2 separate regions of the Homo sapiens genome follow, and region 1 is linked to region 2. Evidence: promoter capture Hi-C in 16 types of primary human blood cells and fetal thymus (Javierre and others, 2016). All regions are on one chromosome and are shown on one strand. The core of a region is centred on a gene start or on the middle of the fragment in contact, and the rest is flanking DNA. Distances in the headings are between cores, read along the strand shown.

What was found. The method cuts DNA at HindIII sites, captures the fragments that hold promoters and counts their contacts. A CHiCAGO score of 5 or more calls a contact.
Region 1: a fragment that was not itself captured here is called in contact with the fragment with the promoter of S100G in region 2 in 1 of 17 cell types (non-activated CD4 T cells); the score reaches 5.6 in non-activated CD4 T cells.

Annotation. Positions count from the first base shown.
Region 1 is chrX:16,456,192-16,460,629 of GRCh38, forward strand. The region is part of intron 1 of LOC124905249 (a long non-coding RNA gene); the gene reads right to left. Among named protein-coding and RNA genes, the nearest start is that of MIR548AM, 170 kb to the right of the region's middle. The HindIII fragment of the contact is 2,825 bases long and covers 235-3,059 here.
Region 2 is chrX:16,648,108-16,652,994 of GRCh38, forward strand. S100G (S100 calcium binding protein G) reads left to right here and starts at 2,051. Exons shown (of 3, transcript NM_004057.3): 1 at 2,051-2,096; 2 at 2,892-3,034. The coding sequence starts at 2,900. All of the region lies in intron 13 of CTPS2 (CTP synthase 2), which reads right to left. The HindIII fragment of the contact is 12,685 bases long and covers 1,846-4,887 here.

The DNA of each region.
Region 1 (4,438 bases), core at 397-2,896, 190 kb before region 2:
TTGGGATTGCCAGATCAAACTGTAAACTTCTGACATTGCTACCTTGAAAACGAGTGTGGGATTAGGGGAGTGATGGGGGAAGGGAAGGTGAGTGCAAAGAGAGGGAAGGAAGAAGGTACTTTCCTTGACTCAGAGATACTCAAGGATAAAGATTCTTATTGGATTTTTGTGGCTTATAAATGTCACACGAGTTCGTGTGAAAAGACCACCAAACAGGCTTTGTGTGAGCAATAAAGCTTTTTAATCACCTGGGTGCAGTCGGGCTGAATCTGAAAAGAGAGTCAGCAAAGGGTAGTGGGATTATCATTAGTTCTTATAGGTTTGGGATAGGCGGTTGAGTTAGGGGCAATTTTTTACAGGCAGGGGGTGGATCTTACAAAGTACATTCTAAAGGGTGGGGAGAATAATACGAAGTACCTTCTCAAGGGCAAGGGAGGATAATACAAAGTACCTTCTCAAGGGTGGGGAGGGTATATCGTACAAAGTACATTCACAAGGGCAGGGGAATATCACAAAATACATTATTGCAAGGGCAGGGAGGGTGTATTGTCACAAAGTCAATTGATCAGTTAGGGTGGGGCAGGAACAAATCACAATGGTGGAATGTCATCAGTTAAGGCAGGAACTGGCTAGTTTCACTTCTTTTGTGTATCTTCAGTTGCTTCAGGCCATCTGGATGTATACATGCAGGTCACAGGGAATATGATGGCTTAGCTTGGGCTCAGAGGCCTGACAATAATGACCTCAAATAAGTGATTATCCAACCTACAATCAATACCTTCTGAAGCAGCCCATTCTATTTTCTGACAGCTTTAATCATCGGATATGTGAAAATAAGTCTCTAGACCATAAACTCCACAAGGGCATGGATCTTAGGTCATGTTCATAGGTAGGTCTCAAGGGCCTAAACAGTGCCTGGTACAGAGTAGCTGCTCAAAAAATATTTGTCAAATGAATGCCTCCTGGTGGCTTCCCACAATGATTCTATTTCTACTCTAGAAATTTCAAAAGAAATCTGTTTCTTCATTATAACAACCCAACAAACATCTTAAGACAATTGTCATGTTTACCCCTCTTCAAACTCCACTATAATTTTTTTTTCTTTTGCAAGTTAAACATTCCTAGTTCACTCAACTATTTCTTATAGGTTGGATTTCCAGTCCCCACAACAAAGATTTACTGGATGCCTGTTATACAGTCACCAATGGGGAGGGGTGAGGCCATGAAAGAATTCTGGATAGTATCTACTCTATTCATCACAGCCCAGCTCTGTCATCCAACACATTGTCCTAATTTGTCCACCAGAACAGTAATGAAAAGTTTTGGCGAATGGCTGGCAGAAATCCACATGGACAGCATCTACTATTTTTCCCCAATAGAGTTGTCTGGCTACTTTATCCAAGAGGAGGAGGAGGAAAGGAAAGATAAGAAGAAGGAAGGGAGAGAGGGAGGGAGGGAGAAAGGGAAAGGAGGGAAGGAAGGAAGGAAGGAAGGGAGGGAGGGAGGGAAAAGGAAGGAAGGAGGGAGGGAGGGAAGGATGGAGGGAGGGAAGGAAGGAAAGAAGGGAGGGGGGAGGGAGGGATGGAGGGAGGAACGAAGGGAAGGAATAACAGGTGGGAAGGTCCAAATATTAAAAACAAAAACAAAAAACAAATAAACAATGGTGCCCTGGTTTTTCAAGAGAAAGGCTATGAACTTCCCAAACTACAGACTGATGAATTTGATATTGATTCTAAGCCAGAGATCAGCAAATTATTCTCCAAAGTGCCAAATAGCAACTATCAGAGGCTTTTCAGGAAAAAGAAGTGAGGTTAACCTGGCACTACTTCACAACTTCATACCGTGGTTCTCAACTGTGGCTTCATATTGGAATCACTTATGAATCCCCTAGAAATGATGAACTTCTGAGACCCCATCCCAGGGATTCTGATTTCATTAGTCTGGGATATAGGCCGAGCACCAGGATTTTTCAAGGTTCCCCAGTGATTCTAATGTGTAGCCTTGCTAGGCTAATGTGGTCCTTGCTGGCGCTGAGGACCACTGCGTTCATGCAAACTCCTGGGGATCAACACATCTCTTTTTAAGGACTCACAGTCTTTTTTTCTTTTAAGCCTATTCTAGAATATTGCATCTGGCCCTCCATCCATTTTTGAATATCAAGTTGTGTTGGCACACAGCCATGCTCATCCGCATACACATTGTCAGTGTCTGCTTTCACACTCCTGCAGCAGCGTGGAGTCGTTGTGACTGAGACCATGTGACCCACAAGCCTCAAATAGCTACTTACTCTCTGACACTTTTGAGAAAAGTTGGCTGACCTCTGGCTTAGAATCAATATCAAATTCACCAGTCTATAGTTTGGGGAATTCATGGCTTTTCTCTTAAAGAATCAAGGTACCACTGTTTGTTTATATATTTGTCTTTTTTTAAACTTTTAAGTTCAGGGGTACACGCGCAGGTTTGTTATATAGGTAAAAGCATGTCACAGGGGTTTGTTGTACAGATTATTTCATCACCCAGGTACTAAGCCTAATACCCATTAGTGATTTTTCCTGATCCTCTCCTTCCTCTCACCCTCCACGTCCAGTGGGTCCCATTGTCTGTTGTTCCCCCGACGTGTCCATGTGTTCTCATCATTTATCTCCCACTTATAAGTGAGAATATGCAGTGTTTGGTTTTCTATTCCTGTGTTAGTTTGCTAAGGACAATGGCTTCCAGCTCCATCCATGTTCCTGCAAAGGAAATGATCTCATTCTTTTTTATGGCTGCATAGGACCTTCTTACCTGTTACTCTCCTGAACCCTCTCCTACTCCTCATGATTACTTAGAAAGCCTGGCAATAAGGTGATTTTCACAGTATCACTTATCACAACACTGAAGAAGAGATGTAATAGATTTTATTCTGATGTATGAATGTATGTAATAGGAAGCCTTTTAAGATCACCTACAGTAGCATTTCATAATTGTTATATACACGAGGTTATTGACCAGAATGAGCATGTGTTTCATCAGTGTTTACATATTTCCTATCTGAGCATCCCACATACTGTATGCAGCCAAGCTTCCTACTCTACTCTCTGAAGCTGCAAGCTATTAAAACTCAAGATTATGATATATAACAAGTAATATTTGATATATAATGTCTACTATTTAACATACACTGGATGGTACATAATAGGCAATGTACGTCTGTGAGGCAGTTATTGTTGCTGTGGCACTGGCTTTTGGACATTTTTGGATTTCACTCTGCAGGCGTTTTTAAAACTTATGATCAATGATCCATGAAAAATGAGCCCTAAAATAAACCTGTGTTTCACTTTAGGCATGAATAGAATATATGGGAAGACACCTGTAAGCATATCCACCCCACCTGCCTTTACCTAGATCCTTCTCATATTGCATAATAATAATCTGAATTTCTGAGATCATTCAGCATGATCTGCTGGTAGCACAGAAGGTGCAGATGGATGACATGTGGCCAGAGCATTTATAATTCTGTGTAATGCATACGCATATCGCTTTACTCCAGGTGCATTAGAATTAGGGATAGTTTTGTCTCTCACTTGCACAGTAAATGTGGGCCTTCGTAGAGACTCATTTTCCATGGGATATTGATAAGCCCTAGAAATTTCCACAGCTGGAGAAACTGCATCACGGTGTGGACCTACTTCAATTATGGACTTGCTCTGGTCCTAATAGTTGCAGGTTCAAAGAACACAGCATTGAGGTAGGCTGCTGGCAGCCCTCAGATATTAAGTACATGAACATGCCTCCCACATGGGAATCACTCTCATTTCAGTCAATAACCCTTGAAGAAAATGGAATCATTAATTGGAGTAGTAAAATCTGAGAAAGCATTTTAATGCACTTACTGCGTGAAATGTTTTCACCATTAGAAAGTCCTTTGATTGAGGGGAAGAAAACTGCTGAGAATTTTCAAAATCTAAATGATCTTCAGAGCTACTCCTAAGCCTTTTACTAGCTTGATTTAAATCACAAGTAATGAATGACTATACAGTGTACCCCAACATAACATATACACAATTTATTAATATATATTTTGACAAGAAGATAAAGGAACCCATTCTGATTACCTTAAAGTCCCAAATATTCAGAATACCCAATGGCTCATGTGTCTGGTCTTGGAGTGACTGAGAAAGCTCCTCCCAGTCCCACCTCAGCTGAACTCCCATCTCATCACCAAGTGGCATCTGGCCCTGCTTCCGGGTCCCTCAAGTTGTGACAGTCTGAATCATCCTTGATTTCTGGAAATCCACTTTAAACCATCGCGAAGAGCTATCGATGTGCTTTGAGTACTGAGTTGATGTTTTTTGTGATCAAATTCTTTTCTAAAAGAATTCATCTATGGTGGGTCTGTGGTATTGTTCTCTCAGCCAGAATATTTAATTAACCAGAAGAACCCATTTCCATGTGTAGC
Region 2 (4,887 bases), core at 801-3,300:
TAAACAAAAAAACCAGATGCAAAACATAATAAACACCCCATTTGATTTTAGCTCACTAGTGGTAATTTGAGAGAAAAGATGATTTAAGATGCTATTCAACAATTGGAGAGATTTGACGTGGGCTATGATAATGGCATTGTGGTTACATAGGAGAATGTCTTTGTCCTTAGGAGACAGATGCTGAGGTGCTCAGGGGGGAAGCATCTGGATGTTTGTAATTGATTCTCAAATGACTCAGGGGTGGAGGAAAGTATCTGTCCAGAGAAAGAGAAAGCAAATGTGGAGATGTTCGCAATTAGTGAATCTAGTCGAAAGGCAGACTGGTGTTCATTGCACTATTCTTGCCACTTTTCTGTAGATCTGAAATATTTTTTAAAAGATGTTTAAAAAAAGATAGTTCTTGTTATGATTAAGCACAAACGCCTACTTCCTCCCAGGAAAACAGAACATATGTGTAAAAACACTGGCAATTTTCTAAAATCTTGATTAAAATGCATTGCCAAAATCAGAATATTTTTGTGTAAAATCTTATAACTAAAAATAAAATGCCTGTCTTTACTCCAACCAGTGAGTTAATACATATTCTATATTGGTGCATAGCAAAGTCAAAGAATCCATAATAAAAACAAGAAGAATATATACAAGACAGCAAAGACACATGGAATGATAAATGCTCAAGACTGGCGGGAAGCTTTTAAGGAATTCTATTAGATTTCCCATTTGTTCTCCAATGTAAATAAGGCCCTAGAATTTTAGAGCTGAGAAACATCAGGGAGAAATACAGTCCCAATAGTCCAGTCCTCAGTTTGTAGGTGATATAAGGCAGAGTCAGGGAAAATTCTATAAGTGTGGAAGTGTACAAGTGTTTCAAAGCTGTAAAGTGCTCTTAAAATCCACCTGGAACCCCTTCCTGTGAGTTACAATCAGCATTAGATCAATGTCCCTTGGAAATGTCCTACTTATTTCATGGAACTCTTTCCAGTAGAAATCAATCTCCTTGGCAATTTTAAATCATGGCAGTTACAAAAAGTTTGAAGTATTTCCAACTGAACAAGAGTAAGTCGAGTGTTCTCACAAGTTTTTCGAATGATCACGAAATATATTTGGTAAGGAAAAGGATAATGAGAAATAAAAAGCAGACACAGGACCAACAAATAATGAAAGAGCTGAAAAAATGACCATGTTACTCAATATTGATTTGCCAAATAAAACCACAAATTACTGAGTATCTTCTTTCCACTTCTTAAACCTGCTTCTGAAGCAATACTTCCATTCATTCATTCATGTATTCAAATATTTAAGCTGCTAATATGTAAAGACATCAGAAGGACTTCAATGGCCATACCGTAATTTTTTAAACTATGTAATATTGTCCTTCTATGACAGCATTTTTTCTTTTTTACAGACAGGATCTCACTCTGTCACCCAGGCTGGAGTGCAGTGGCACAATCATGGCTCACTGTTGCCTCAACCTCCCAGGCTTAAGGAATCCTCCCACCTCAGCCTCTACAGTAGCTGGGACTACAGGCATGTACCATCACACCTGGCTGATTTTTTAAATTTTTCAGTAGAAATGTCTTGCTGTGTTGACCAGGCTGGTATCAAACTCCTCACCTCAAGCAATCCTCCTGCCTCGGCCTCCCAAAGTGCTGGGATTACAGGCATGAGCTACCGCACAGGGCAGCATTTATTTTTTCTGGATATGAAGAAAGTTATTTTTTAAAGCCTAAATATGCAACTAAATTGAAAAGAATCCTCTATATCTAAGCTTTATGAAATGTGAACTGTGAGCAAATATAATTCTACATTGGAGGGAAAATATAATCTCAGGGGGAAAAAAATCCAAGCTTACGACTCTGAACCATGAAGCAACTGTCGAGATGGACCTTTACTGGATCTTGCCCTTAATTATGGGGTTCATGCAGTCTTAAGCCTGAGTTTCAAAAACCATTAATAATTACCCTTAAATGGCCAACAAAAGGAAATTTTCATAATCAGGGTGGCGTGCCCGTAAAGACTATAAAAGTGTCATGATTCTGCTCAGCTCTTCAAACTCCTCTTTGATTCTTCTAGCTGTTTCACTATTGGGCAACCAGGTTAGTGTGATTTTGGTACTACCTAGAGCTCCTTCTGTTTGCATTAATACTCTGCTTCCTTTTAGAATGGTGTGAAAGATAATGGTCTGGAGAGAAGGTGAGTTTATGCCATCTGGAGATATTCCCTGTAACTTAGAAGCTAGAAGCTGTGGTCAAGTATTCTTCAAGACCACAGCCTGCAGAGTGCAGATCAGGTACATAAAAAGTGTAGAATGTCATTAATTACTAATAAAAATGTTTGGCTCCAGGGACCATCTCCTAACAGATGTACTCTAAGAACAGACATTTAACATACTATCTAAGATGTCTTTTTTTTTTTTTTTTTTTTTTTGCAGCGGAGGCTCGCTCTGTCACCCAGGCTGGAGTGCAGTGGCATCGCACTCACTGCAACCTCCGCCTCCCGGGTTCAAGCGATTCTCCTGCCTCGGTCTTCCAAGTAGATGGGACTATAGGCACGCACCACCACGCCTGGCTAATTTTTGTATAGAGACAGGGTCTCACCATGTTGGCCAGGCTTCCATGGTCTCGAACTCCTGACTTCAAGTGATCCACCCTCCTTGGCCTCCCAAAGTGCTGGGATTACAGGCATGAGCTACCGTGCCTGGCCTAAGATGCTTATTTTTTAAACATGTTAGTAGTTACTGGTGCCATTCCGACCCCGACATTCTCTTTTCCTTATTCTTCCCCATTTATGCCAAGGAAATGGCCCAATGGCACTAAAATCCTGCAGACAACCCTCAGCACAAAACTGTACTTCAGCTTTTTGGTAAGTTTATTTTCTTCCCAATTTATAAGACACCAGAATGAGTACTAAAAAGTCTCCTGAGGAACTGAAGAGGATTTTTGAAAAATATGCAGCCAAAGAAGGTGATCCAGACCAGTTGTCAAAGGATGAACTGAAGCTATTGATTCAGGCTGAATTCCCCAGTTTACTCAAAGTAAGTGGCCATCCGCAGAGCCCACTTAATGGGACTGATGGTGGGAGGGGAGGGAGGGAGGGGAGAGGACTCCGGTAGAGCCTTATAGGGACCGTCGCTTGAGGGAGGACACATGCAGGTGGGGTTTCTTCCCCTTAAGTCAGGCCACATTTCAGAAGGCAAGCTCTCAGAAAACAAGGGCCAAGCCTTCTATCCCTCCTGCAGCCTCAGCACAGGACTCTGCAGGACTAGCCATAATAAATGGAAGCAATGCCAAGTTATGCCTGGAAGACCCACAAGTCACCAAGCAAACCCAATAAGGCCTTCAGCATGGATTCAGTACTTCTGTGCCAGGCTTTAGGAAAACAAAGAGGACTGCAAAATAGTGTTAGCTGGCCTTGGACAGGCTTCATTTGTGTATGTAAAATCCCTCAACAAGACCAACACTTACTTAGCAGTCTGTTAGGAAAACCCACTGACAAATTGCCTTGTCAGCACTCATTTATATTTCAAAAGCATTTACATTTGTGTTCATCACTTAAATTTGTGTTAATGAGGCAACCGTGCATTTCTAAACAACTTTCAAGAAAGGACTAAATTTCCTGGGCCATAAAGTTTCACATCAAAATCACCCCAGAGTTGTCAAAATCAAAATGCATTCAAGGCAACAGAGTACAGAGAAGAGCTGATCGTCCTCACTCCAATATACAGTACTGTCTTTCCTTTTGCTAAAGAAAAAGCTGAGTCAGGACACTTGCCAAGGATGGTAAGGCAACTTACTCCAGGAGGGCCATGGCGACCCATACAGGGACCACTGAAACGTGTTCTTGCCATGGGGAGAGAGATTGGGCTCAACTCCAGAAAGGATAAGTGGGGGTTTATGACCATAGAGCAGGATGGGGGGGGCCAGTGGATGGAAAATTACCAAGGAAATATCCAGGATAAGGAGCTTCTGGCTAAATTGCCTTGATAGGATTCTAGCTGAAGGCAGGCCAGGTGATCAAATATTAAGGGTAGTCAGATACAAGGACAGAGAGGGAAGCCCAAGGTCAGGCCTAGTCGAGCAGAGGACTCAAAGGAGAGAGTCATTGTCATTTTGCAATTAAAAACCATCTTCACAACAGAAGTGACTATGGAATTGTTTTGTATGACTCAGTCACTATTTAGCTCTAACTTCAGGAAAGAACATTTCTTCAAATATTTTAACCAGCTCTCCAGATTTTAACCAGAAATGTCCCTTCTGCCAATATGACAATTGGAAAGACTTCTGTTTTTAATACTAAAAAAGAAAAAAGCTGAATTCAATGACCCCAGAATCTGATATTTTCTCATTTTCTCATAGTTGAAATATAGAAGAACTTGTAAAAACACTTAAAGTCACTAGCAGAAAAAGGGACTTTTTAATTAAACAGCAAAACAAGTTAGTGAAAAAATTTAAAATTTTAAAAGACCCTTTATTTTTTCTAAAAGGAAGAAAAATAATCATCTAACAGGAAAGCCTAGGCCATGTACTCAAACAAGTTGTTTCAAAAGGTAACACGGGTAACTTTTTCTATATTTTATGTCTTTCCTACAAAAAGTACGTAAGACATAATCTGGAACGAGGTAGGAAGACTAATGGTAAGTTCTGAAAGTCTACTTAACATGTACCTGATTATATTCCCATAAGGTTTCCATTACTAAGGTTTTCCACCATACTCTGTTTACATATATCATCACCATGCATGGTTTAGAATCTAGTAAAGGCTTCAGGAAAACAGTGTTTCATATTCATAAATCAAAGGCTGAATAAGTAACTTACAGTTTGGTCTTGTAATTAAAGCAAAGTGCTAAGTGTTTTTGTAGGAATCTTAGGGGTTAAAATATATCTTCCA